4 separate regions of the Homo sapiens genome follow, and regions 2, 3 and 4 are each linked to region 1. Evidence: promoter capture Hi-C in 16 types of primary human blood cells and fetal thymus (Javierre and others, 2016). All regions are on one chromosome and are shown on one strand. The core of a region is centred on a gene start or on the middle of the fragment in contact, and the rest is flanking DNA. Distances in the headings are between cores, read along the strand shown. Region 1 holds the start of CMSS1 (cms1 ribosomal small subunit homolog). Region 2 overlaps TBC1D23 (TBC1 domain family member 23). Region 3 has its middle 49 kb from the start of TBC1D23. Region 4 overlaps CMSS1 (cms1 ribosomal small subunit homolog).

Region 1 (2,877 bases), core at 125-2,624:
ACCTCGGCCTCCCAAAGCGTTGGGATTACAGGCTTGAGCCACCGCGCCCGGCCCATACTTCTTAATTTTGTGATTTATTGCCTGAAAAACGGTCTCGCTGTGGTGTTTTTTTTGTATTTCCCAGATTAATAATCAGACTGAATTCTTTTCATGTTTATTAGCCATAGCAACTCCTCTTCCACACTGGCATTTCTTATCTTTTTCAAAAATCTATTAATCACGAAAATCTCGTCATCTACATTTCTTCACAAAAGCCATATTACTTTTGATCTTTATAGATTATTTTACATTTGCCATATTTATACATAATATCTTCCCTTTTGGGGCATTTAGAGTGTGCGGACAAAGTCTAGGCAGTAATGCATTTATAAAACATCTATGAGTTGGGTGCACACGGGGTAATTTTCCACATATGGCTAATCCTAGCCTCATCAGATTAAGTTTCCCTGTCTTGTCATTTCCGAGGATGTATCCTATTAGAAGTCTAGCCCTTTATTCCTACAAATTGAATTTCCACTACTGTAGGCTAACATCTGAATGGACTCATCTTACTATTCCATGCATAGTACCAGGCACGTTGCGTGCTTTTACTACATTTTGTATAATTTTTACGTCTGTGTTTGATGTCCTGAAAAATACCGTCCACAATTACTTCACAGCTAGCCCCAGCACTTGGCGCCCAGCGGGTTTTCCTAGTCCCTCCCTGCCAAATCACGTTGGGACTGAGACAAGAGGCACTGCGGGTCTCTTACCTATAGTTACGAAGCAATGGACTCCCTTATTACTTCGTTTCCCAAATAGGGGGTGGGACACACAACCGAGGGAGTATGAGGAAAACAACTTGCGGGTCTTCGAGCCACTTGCGTCTTTCTGTGGGCGAGCCTTTCCAGGCCAATTACATTTTCTTTACTCATATTGCATAAATAGCAGAACTACATTTACCACAAAGGCCCGACATTCATGGTCATGGATCCTTGCGCATGTTTTCTAAGAGCAAACTGTACAAACACATAAACTCTGAAACACTGACGCACAAGCGAAAACACACGCACATGTTTGGGTCTTCTCCCGCTGCGCAAGTTCTTTGAAACTGAGCGGAGAAAAATCGTCTTCACATGGTGTCTCACACTTTCGACACAATCTTATCGGGAAACGTAACACGTAAACAAAATTTTTTAAAATGCATTATCAAAAACGATGACAATCCCTTTCGTCTTATGTTCCTTTTTGTCTTTAAGCTTTGGGGGGATTTATGTTGCGTTTCCAAACTGCTTCTGCCTGTCGGCGCCTGTGTGGAAACTGCGACGAGTCTGGGAGCGGCTGCCGGAGAGGCGGGGCAGAGGTGTGACGTCATCGCCGCGGGGCGGAGGCGACAGTGTCTAGCGGGAGCTCCGCGTGTAGCTACGCCGGCCGCCTGGCTTTGAGACAACGTGATTCTCCGCAGCTGGTCGCCTACCCGTGATGTTCTGCCCACGTCGAGACCTGAGCTGAAATGGCAGACGATCTCGGAGACGAGTGGTGGGAGAACCAGCCGACTGGAGCAGGCAGCAGCCCAGGTACCCACTCTGTGCCCGCGCTCCTACGGGGCCTCTCCCGGAGCCCTTCCGTGCGCCTCAGCCCTGGTCGCTTCTGGCGATCGCGGTGTTTGCCCAGCAGGGGTGTGCACCGCCTTGGGAGCGCGCAAGCATCTCGGGGAAAATGGTGCAAGAGATTCTTTAACACGTGAAACAGACAGCTGTGACATTAACTCAGATCTGTCTGCCAGCCAGGAAGGATCCTTTCCACAAGCTTTCTCTTTTCCTTATTTCTTGAGAATGGATAAGACAGTTTTTGTGAAGAGAGGCAACTTTGTATGATGGTTAAGGGTGACCCATGAACTGCTTTCAATTCAGACTGAGGTCAGAAGCAGGGGTTGCTGCTTCAGACTCCCTCCATTCAAATCACGACTCCAGTATTCTGATACTGTTTAGCCTCCTTTTCCTCATCTGTAAAATAATGATAACAATAATGTCCATTTCGTAAAGTTGTGAAGATTAAGTGAAGTTAGTACAGTAATGCACTTTAGCATAGTGCTTGACATATAATGTGTGGTAAATATAAGTTACTGTATTTCTTGTGGTCATCATCATTATCATGGAATTTGGAATAGTAGAACTGGAAGGAGGCTTAAATAGAGATCATCCTTTGAACTCACTTATTTTACAGATGAGAAACATAACCTAAAGATGTCAAGTAACTTGACAAGTTCACAAAGCTAGCTCCTTTCAGAAACAATACTAGAATTCAGTTAACACAATTTGAATAGTTTCTACTATGCTCTGCTGTGTTTACCAACTCCTGATGCAGTGGGCATTTCATCCCCAAGTAGAGTAGCGTTAAGTGACCCCCCATGTCAGGCTAGCCTTGAACTTTTTAAGTTCCATCACACCTACCATGCAATTATTGGTTGGTTGGTTTTTATCACTCCTCAAGGTCTGCCTCTTTTCTCTACAAGAGAAGACAGGGCCAAAGTCAGATTCATACTTCTGTCATCCACAGGGCCCTGCACATGTTAGACACTTGATACCTATTTGCTGCAAACAATCTTGAAATACTAGTTGTGAAATATCCATTAAAAATAACCAACTTCATTTGTTGCATTGTTTCCGGAAGGTCAAGCCTTCAGGTACAAACTAAGCAGATGTCATTTTTAGAAAGGTAGCCAATACAACATTTCCTTGATTAAACTTCCTGACTCTTTTGCAGCCCTGTGGTGTTCCACATTTACTTTAATAACTACCCCTCCCAACTCAGGTGTTAAAAAGCTCTATTTTATGATATGATTGAAGATGAACAGAGGCCATTTAAGAAATAGTTGAATTCTGTTTGAGTGGTGAA
Region 2 (2,877 bases), core at 201-2,700, 480 kb after region 1:
TTAATTGTCTACAATTAATTATTGTTGACATTCTTGACACCAGTTTTTGTAAATCGCCGTATCTTTTTTCCATATTTCAGTAGAGCAACTGAATGTGGCATTGTATAAAATACTTTTAAAAGGGTGAATTTAGCATTTAACAGTTTCTGGTAGTTTACAGCTAATTGAATTACATGGTTTAGTTCCATACAACTTATAGCAAAGGAGAATTGTGAAAATGAAATTTTCTTCATGAAAATCTAATAAGTCAATTTGACCAATGATGTTTTTAATATATGGTCTTTATTACTAGTAGTGCAGCAGTTAACCATGGTGTGTATTTGGAAGGTGTAGTGTATTTCCAAGGTTGAGGGCAGGAAAGGAATGGACGTGGGAAAATAGCCTTTTATGGTAGATCTTTCTTAGTTGGATTTCTTACTGTATCTGCGCTGGTTATTGAGGATTTTCAAAATACAAGCATCTCACTTTTTTCTTATTCAAACTAATATTTAAAAACAAATGAAAACATGTTATCCAGTTTAAAGAGATCCATGTGAACTTCTTTAGTTGAAACTGGTATTTCAGAACATTCTCCCTTCATCCCCCCACACGAAATAGATGTTTAGTTCTTACGTGAATTGAGCTGTTGATAAATTTGCAGATTTATTTGCAAAAAAGAATAGCATATCTAGAGTTGTGTTTATAACTATATAGCGTTTTATAATTAGTTTTATAATTAATTATAATTAGTTTTATAGCTCAAACAGACACTCTCCTTCTATGTATTTTAAGACTTTCCAGTAAAGAACAACATCTAAAAAAGAAAAATGTTTTAACTGTTTAAAAGAAATAAAAGTATTTAGGACCTTCGGGTTATTTTCTGTGCTAACTAGGTCCTCCCAATTCCATGTGAGATCCATTTTTTAATGAACTTGTTCCCTTTATTTGGTTAACTGTGAATATTATGTTGTGCAATGTGAACCTCATGGGAAATTCCTGTATGTCAAATGTTGTTTCCGTTTTAGGAAGGAGTCCGGTTCTTTGTGGTGGATTGCCGTCCTGCAGAACAATATAATGCTGGGCATTTATCAACTGCTTTCCACTTAGATTCAGACCTGGTTAGTATAAATGCTGATTAATTATTCTTAAAGTAACTTTTTTTCCTTCAGTTCATAAATAAATATATAGGTCCCAGATTGGGGAATTTTTTTCTTTCTGCTTAAGGAGGGAGTCTCTGCCCTTATGAGAAAAGTGTTGCTGTCAGGTTTCCTTTTCACCCAAATACCCTTTTGTGTTTTTGTTGTTGTTTGTTTGTTTGTTTGTTTCGCTTTTGTTGCCCAGGCAGGAGTGCAATGGTGCGATCTCGGCTCACTGCAACCTCTGCCTCCTGGGTTCAAGCTATTCTCCTGCCTCACCCTCCCTAGTAGGTGGGATTACAGGCACCCACCACCAGGCCCGGCTAATTTTTTGTATTTTTAGTAGAGACGGGCTTTCACCATGTTGGCCAGGCTGGTCTCGAACTCCTGACCTCAGGTGATCCCCCTGCCTCAGCCTCCCAAAGTGTTGGGATTATAGGCGTGAGCCACCACGCCCAGCCCAGATACCCTTTTGGCATTATAAAGGGTAGTTGAAAACAATGCTCACTATGGCTTACTATCGCTTACCATTTTTATGTCAGTAAATTCTGAACTTAGTTTGAGCTACCTAGTATAGCACTTAGCATAGTGCACTGCACCTACTAAGTACTCTCTGGATATCAGCTCTTACTGTAATTGAGTAAGAATTCTGTAGGCTTTATAGTATGAGCCATTTTTAATCATGAGTATTTATGCATATAATAAACTAATATTTAATAAGGGTAGTATCTGGCATATAAGTACTTAGTTATTAAAACTACTATCCTAGGTCATTTAATTTGAAGAATGGTAAATAATTGTCAGAGATGTATAGAGCTGTTGGTAGAATTGAGGCTAACATCATTTAAGCCATTCTGGGATCATTAAAGCCTCAGGGATGGGGAACACAGGAATGGGATGAGAAACCTCTTAGCTAAATGTTAAGTCTACCTTTCCCCTTCCCAACTCGTCTGAAAAATTTGATGCTGAACTGAAAGGGTGTGTGAAAGGGCCTAGGTAATATTGAGGAAGAACTAACAGATATTGTGAGAAAGGCCATCTTAGCTCATCCATATTCTGTAGGTGAACTCTGTGCCTTTCTCTTCCTTGATTCCTCTCTCCTTCCTATTTTAAAAATTTACTCAAGTGATTCATGAATACTTGAATTAATTTTTTTTTTTTTTTTTTTTGAGACAGAGTTTCTACTCTGCCACTCAGGCTGGAGTACAGTGTTATGATCTTGGCTCACTGCAACCTCAGCCTCCCAGGTTCTGGCGATTCCCTAGCCTCAGCCTCCCGAGTAACTGGGACTGCAGGTGTGCGCCACCATGCCTGGCTAATTTTTTTTACTTTTAGTAGAGGAGGGGGTTCATGTTGGCCAGGCTGGTCTCAAACTCCCAGCTTCAAGTGATCTGCCCACCTTGGCCTCCCAAAGTGCAGGGATTACAGGCGTGAGTCACCATGCCCGGCTTGAATTTTTAAAAATTTTTAAAGAATATTATCAGCTTACGTAATCTTCCAGACTTTTAATATCTGTTTACATATTTTTTGTTTTGCCACTTGATTTTTCACGTAACAGTTTCTAAGAGATCTTTTGATTTAAGTACATTCTTTCTAATGATGCATAGTGGTCCATGGTACATGTAGGTATACTATAATTTATTGCCTGATTGATGTATATGTGGGTTATTTTTTGTTTTCTTGTAATAATGCTGCATTTGACATCTTTTTATACATTTTGTGAACTTATGCAAATATTTCTGTAAAATAGATTCTTAAAAGT
Region 3 (2,877 bases), core at 275-2,774, 390 kb after region 1:
CCCAGCATGGGGATACTGGCCTTTCCAAAACCCAAATGAATGTACCACCTTTAGTTCGACTACCAAAAATGTTTTGTGATCTTTTTGTTTGCTTGTTCTTCACTCCCCTTAAAGAATTTTCCCTGAGGTAGGAATTCAAACCTTAGCCTACTAAAGGACTATAGCCTGCCCTGGGTCTTCTAATTCATATATAAAAATTTAGGTTTGTATGATTGTAATTTCCTTGGGTTTGCCAAAGGAAATTAAATATATTTGTTCATTATCAGTTGTCTATAAGTCATTCAGATCTGTGTCAGAATCTCTTTCGTAGCTTACAACTATGTAGAGGGAAGGCTTGTTTTTATTTTCATTCCAGCAAGATACAGAGTAGTGCTTGGTAAAGATTAAGTTGCAGCATATGAGATTAGATATTTAACCATTTTTTTACCTATAAAAAAGAGCAATTTTATATGTGTCAACCTAATATATTCAGTATATGCAATACTAGAAATGTGAAGTGTTGAGTCAGATTCTTAACAGGTCTTCTTAGACTTCCCAGTAACCAGGTTCCACGGAGAAAAATCAGTTGTTCTCTCCACCCTGACATGGTGTGGGGGTAATAGCCTTTTCTTAGGTCTTGCCTACACAGTGACAGGAGCTATGACATGGTTGGCCTCCTTTGCCATGATGGCAATTCACATCATGCTGAAAAACAAGAAAATGTCCTTCTTCCATCAATAAAGTCAAGCTTTAAAAAGAAAAGGAGGAAACAAAACTGGACAGTGAAGTAACAGAACCAAAGATCTCTGAAGGGCTGGAGATGACTGGGATGTTTCAACAAGGGGAACTAGGTTGACTGAACTAAAATCAATTTCAAATAGACAATGAAGAGAATTTTAGAGTTAAAAAGAAGAAGGAAGAAGAGGGGAGGCATAATTATACGTAGTAAAATGTCCTTGGTGTGGGGAGAATAAGTCACTCTTGAGCTCTAGACCAGTTTTCCAGTATTTATTTGAAGTCCTTGAGCCTGAAGGCAGGTGAACTCTGTAAGAGAGTGCCATCACCAGAAAAGAGCAAGCAATCTGGGGTACCCACGATTAGGTGAGTCCTAACCATCGGATCAGGCTCAAACCATGAGTCTTCACTGGCTATTTGAAATTTGCTTTTATTTTTTTTTTTGAGATGGAGTCTAACCCTGTCACCCAGGCTGGAGTGCAGTGGCACAATCTTGGCTCACTGCAACTTCTGCCTCCTGGGCTCAAGCAATCCTCCTGGCTCAAGCGATCCTCCTGCCTCAACCTCTCAATTAGCTGGGATTATAGGCGTGTGCCCCCATACCCTGCTAATTTTTGCTATTTTATTTATTTATTTATTTGTTTGTTTGTTTGAGATGGAGTCTTACTCTGTCACCCAGGCTGGAGTGCAGTGGCGCAATCTCAGCTCACTGTAACCTCTGCCTCCCAGGTTCAAGCAGTTCTCCTGCCTCAGCCTCCCGAGTAACTGGGATTACAGGCGCATGCAACCATGCCCCGCTAATTTTTGTCTTTTAGTAAAGACGGGGTTTCACCATGTTGGCCAGGCTGGTCTCGAACACCTGACCTCAGGTGATCCACCCGCCTCACATTCCCAAAGTGCTGGGATTACAGGCTTGAAGCACTGCGCCCGGCCTTTATAATTTTAGTAGAGTTGGGGTTTCACCATGTTGGCCAGGCTGGTCTCAAACTCACCTCAAGTGATCCACCCGCCTTCCAAAGTGCTGGAATTACAGGTGTGAGCCACCGCACCTGGCCTGAAATTATTATAACCACCCCAACAATTGTTGAACTAAATTCAGCATCAGGATGATTTTTGAAAACTGATTTTTTTTTAATGTTCTCCCTTTTCTATAGAGTTAGAGTTAGAGTTTTTTCTGCTAAGAACAGACCAAGCAAAGGTTATGGCAATATCCTGAGCACTCAAAATACAGCCATGCACCAAAAAGAAAGGCTAGAAACTTCCCTAAAGTTATCCATTTGGCCAAGAGGGAAGCATTGAAAGTGACTGATTCTCAAACACTGTACTCAGCATGTTGAAGGCACAACAATGCTAGAACTTATATTGGGATGACATGTTCTAGAATACAAATGATGTTGTAGATTTATGATACTTGAATTAACGTTTTGAGGAAGGTTCTCAGGGTCTCTCTTGAAAGGCTTTAATTCCTGCCAAAGGTCCCTCACAGGAGACTGGATGGAATGCTTAGTGAATCTGTCAGGACATGAAGCCCCACAGATTTGTATACCTAGCTGGCCACAATATTATATTTTTTAAGACATTTTTATGTTAATTTTTTAGAGGTGGGGGAAGCTTTACTCTGATTATTCTAGGAGCAGAATTGTCATTGTTAAATAAAAATATAGTGCCAACACATGTTCATCTCTTTAGTAGCCAAGAAAGCATTTCTTTGTTGCAACTTTCTATGTTTGTCACATAATCGAGTACTTTTCTAAAAAATAAAATAATTTTAAGTACCAACTCTGAAATCTTAGAATCCTTCCCCTATCTCACCTTCCATTTGTAACCAATTACCTCTGACCAGGTGTGGTAGGTAGAATAATACCCCCTGCCCACCACCAATGATGTCCACGTCCTAATTCCCGGAATGTGTAAATGTATTAAATGTCCAGAGAGACTCTACAGATATGATTAAGGACACTGATAGAAGGAGATGATCCTGGGTGATTTGGGTGGGCCCACTGCAGTCATAAGGGCCTTATAAGAGGCAGGCAGTGATAAAAGGAGTAGTAGGAGATGCAACAACAGAAGCAGGAGGTTGGAGTGATGCGAGGAAGTGGCCATGATCCAAAGAATGTAAGTGGCCTCCAGAAGCTGAAAAAAGCAAGAAATAGATTCTTCCCC
Region 4 (2,877 bases), core at 240-2,739, 270 kb after region 1:
TTCAGAACCATTGTTTCAGACCATAATCATTGTGACATTTTCCCGTCTTGTCTCTGATGCCATGAAAAGCAAATGATTTTTGCCAAGAAACAAATATTAGTTGCTTAGTGCATGCTTCTTTATCTTGTTTGAAATATGAGGCCTACATTTAGTGTCATATTTTTTAAAGTGTTAGAATAATCAGTCTTAACTAAATTGTGTTTTCAACTTCATAAAAAAAATTTTTAACATCACCATTTCTTTGTTTGTTTGTTTGTTTAGAGAAGGGGGTCTCCCTATGTTGCCCAGGCTGGTTTCAAACTTCTGGGCTCAAGCAGTCCTCCCACCTTGGCCTCCCAAAGTGCTAGTATTAAGGCATGAGCCACGGTGCCTGGCGTGATTCTTGCCATTGGAAGTTCTATAGTAGATTTTGGTCAGAAGTACTAAGGTTGTGAGCATAATTATCAAAATAAAATTTATGTATGCTGAAGTTGACAGCTGAATTACAAAGAATATTTCTCCGTTATAGTTAATTTGTGTTATTTCTTCCTTTCATAAAATAATAATAATGCTTGTATTAAAATTTCTGCTACCCCCATGCCAGCAGAAAGGAGCTCAATTTTTAAAATAAAGCCTCGGGCCATGAGACCCATGTCATTTGCTGCATGTCTAGACTTCTAGATTATGCATTTGTGCCCCAGTTAAGCAAAAGCTCCGTATTGTTATTTCATGTACATGTTTAAATAACTTTAATAGCAGCCTTTGGAGTGGCTCATTTTAAAAGTCCCTTTTAGTCTCCTACCTGCTATTTTTCACTAGCCCATTGAGTAGAGGGGTTTTTCATGCTACCCACATAAAAATATGCAAATATTTATAAGCTTAGGTCCATCAAACTAGTTAATTTGGACCTAAATATGAATTTTGATCAAGGCTGCTTGCAAATTCACATTTTGGGCTTACTTTCAGATTTCAGATATATAGAAAAACTCAAAGAAAATGAATAAAGCCTTTCAGTGCTCCAAAGATTTGTTTAAAAGGAACAGCCACTAAAAACGGGAAAACAATACAGTGTTATGGGAAGTAAGAACCTTATGATAGCCGTGTCTCTTAAACAGAGCTTTATAAAGAGGAACTGATGTGGTTTTACTATGTCTATGCAAGGGATTTGACCGTAAAGCCATAAGTTAGAGAAATTGTCACTTACGTATAAACATGAGGATATGGATATTACAGATCAACCTCACTTTTTCCACTTATTTGTGTTCCGAAAACTGAATATTTATAAATCAAATCATAGTTTTCACTTGGTTCATATTATCATCTCAGAGCTGTAGCTTCTTTTTCACTTGCGTAGGTGGAATTTGGTTGCTAAAATACCTATCCCCAATCAGTCCCAGCCTTGCATCAAGTTAGGGAATTATAAATGAAGTAGCCACTATGTAAAGGTAATGTAATGAATCCAAAAATTATCTTATAATGCAGAAACTCATTCTCTGTCCATGTCTTTAGCTTCAGATTTTTCTGTCATTTGTTGAATTGTGGCGCACTTTTAAATATGTATGTATGGTACAGATCTCTGCTGAATCTCCTAAACTAAGCCGTATCCCCTAAAGTGGTGGTTTCCAGCCCAGGCTGCTCAATAGAATCACAAGAGAAACAGTCCTGATCAGTTGAATTAGAATCCCTGGATATGGAATTGTTTTAAAAGTATCTAAGGTGATTATACCGTACAACCAACCTGAAGTTTGCCAGAAGAGAACATTAATATTTTAGAACAGCTTATTATTGTAGATAGTGTGATTATAAACTAGTTAAAATGTTTCACACTAAGAGGACTGATGTTTTATATCTTCCCTTCTCCTTAAGGAATTCATTTCTTTCTGCTTCCTCATGTAGGGAAAAATGACTGACTTTTACTATAATAGCAGGGTCTTTTTATACAAATGTTGCCCATTTGGGACTATGCTTTCTCCAAGTGCTTGTAATTTCTCAAAACCATACATCAATCCAAAGTTCCTTTGCTTTTTTATCTCAGAAGCAAAAATATCCCCATTTCTTCCTCTCTTATCAACCAAGACCCCTCTGTGTTCCTCTTTCATCCTTCATCTCAGCATAGCTCTAAGATGCAGGCAAATAACATCCTCAAGCTTACAGGCTTTCCGTCTCTCATGAGGGAATGAAGTGCCTTTCCTCCAACTGAAATGTTTCTGAAGTACTCTTCAGCCACTGCAGTGTTCTGTCATTTTTGTCTGTCATCTGGGAATCAGAGCTATGCACGTGGATGATGACCCCCTCCTAAGTGGCCAAATAAAAGAAGTTACATATGTCTTTTATTCACTCTGTGTTTCTCTGGAGACCTCGACTAGCAGGAAAAGAGGTGGTTACATTTTCATGAAGAGTAATATACTCCCAAGTTGCATTTTAATGGATAACTTAGCTCTGGGTTAGATTCTTCAGCATAAAGGTCACCACTTTTAATATAGAGGGTCATGAGTTTAGTCATTGGACAAGTTAATCAAATGGCTGCTGTAGTTGAAAAGTACATCTGCATTTGAATAAAATATGATTCGTGTTAGAGAGCTAAACTTGATGTTTGGTTTCCTCCAGGTAATAAAATAGCTTTTAATGAAATAAACATGTATCTTTCTGCAGCGAACCTGCATAAAGAGCATAGAACAGTTGCGTTTCCTTTCTGGCAGTGGTAGAGAGTCTTTGACCTGCCATGGGCTGCTTTATTTTATTCAGTCTCAAATAGTTAACCTATTGAGCTGATTAGAAAACAACTAGAAGTCATTCAGTACCACAGAAGAAAGGGACAGAAAAGCCACGAAGTTAGTTGTACTTGTTTGGACATCAATATCATTGATTATATCATTCCAAGTATTACTACTGAGAAAT

Evidence for each region. The method cuts DNA at HindIII sites, captures the fragments that hold promoters and counts their contacts. A CHiCAGO score of 5 or more calls a contact.
Region 2: a contact is called between a fragment that was not itself captured here and the fragment with the promoter of CMSS1 in region 1, in 1 of 17 cell types (naive B cells). The highest score is 5.5, in naive B cells.
Region 3: a contact is called between a fragment that was not itself captured here and the fragment with the promoter of CMSS1 in region 1, in 1 of 17 cell types (activated CD4 T cells). The highest score is 5.1, in activated CD4 T cells.
Region 4: a contact is called between a fragment that was not itself captured here and the fragment with the promoter of CMSS1 in region 1, in 1 of 17 cell types (monocytes). The highest score is 5.1, in monocytes.

The regions. Positions count from the first base shown.
Region 1 is chr3:99,816,488-99,819,364 of GRCh38, forward strand. It overlaps CMSS1 (cms1 ribosomal small subunit homolog), which reads left to right and starts at 1,375. Exons shown (of 10, transcript NM_032359.4): 1 at 1,375-1,556. The coding sequence starts at 1,493. HP09053 (a long non-coding RNA gene) reads right to left here. Exons shown (of 3, transcript NR_110821.1): 2 at 2,433-2,487; 3 at 145-1,985. LOC105374010 (a long non-coding RNA gene) reads left to right here and starts at 1,375. Exons shown (of 5, transcript NR_189163.1): 1 at 1,375-1,556. RefSeq lists a silencer at 1,056-1,810 and enhancers at 1,226-2,100, 1,332-1,641. The HindIII fragment of the contact is 550 bases long and covers 1,237-1,786 here.
Region 2 is chr3:100,298,235-100,301,111 of GRCh38, forward strand. It overlaps TBC1D23 (TBC1 domain family member 23), which reads left to right. Exons shown (of 19, transcript NM_001199198.3): 10 at 1,005-1,097. Among named protein-coding and RNA genes, the nearest start is that of NIT2, 35 kb to the right of the region's middle. The HindIII fragment of the contact is 9,654 bases long and covers 1-2,877 here.
Region 3 is chr3:100,211,047-100,213,923 of GRCh38, forward strand. No RefSeq gene overlaps it. Among named protein-coding and RNA genes, the nearest start is that of TBC1D23, 49 kb to the right of the region's middle. The HindIII fragment of the contact is 1,598 bases long and covers 726-2,323 here.
Region 4 is chr3:100,083,498-100,086,374 of GRCh38, forward strand. All of the region lies in intron 1 of CMSS1 (cms1 ribosomal small subunit homolog), which reads left to right. The region is part of intron 1 of FILIP1L (filamin A interacting protein 1 like); the gene reads right to left. Among named protein-coding and RNA genes, the nearest start is that of FILIP1L, 30 kb to the right of the region's middle. The HindIII fragment of the contact is 1,269 bases long and covers 856-2,124 here.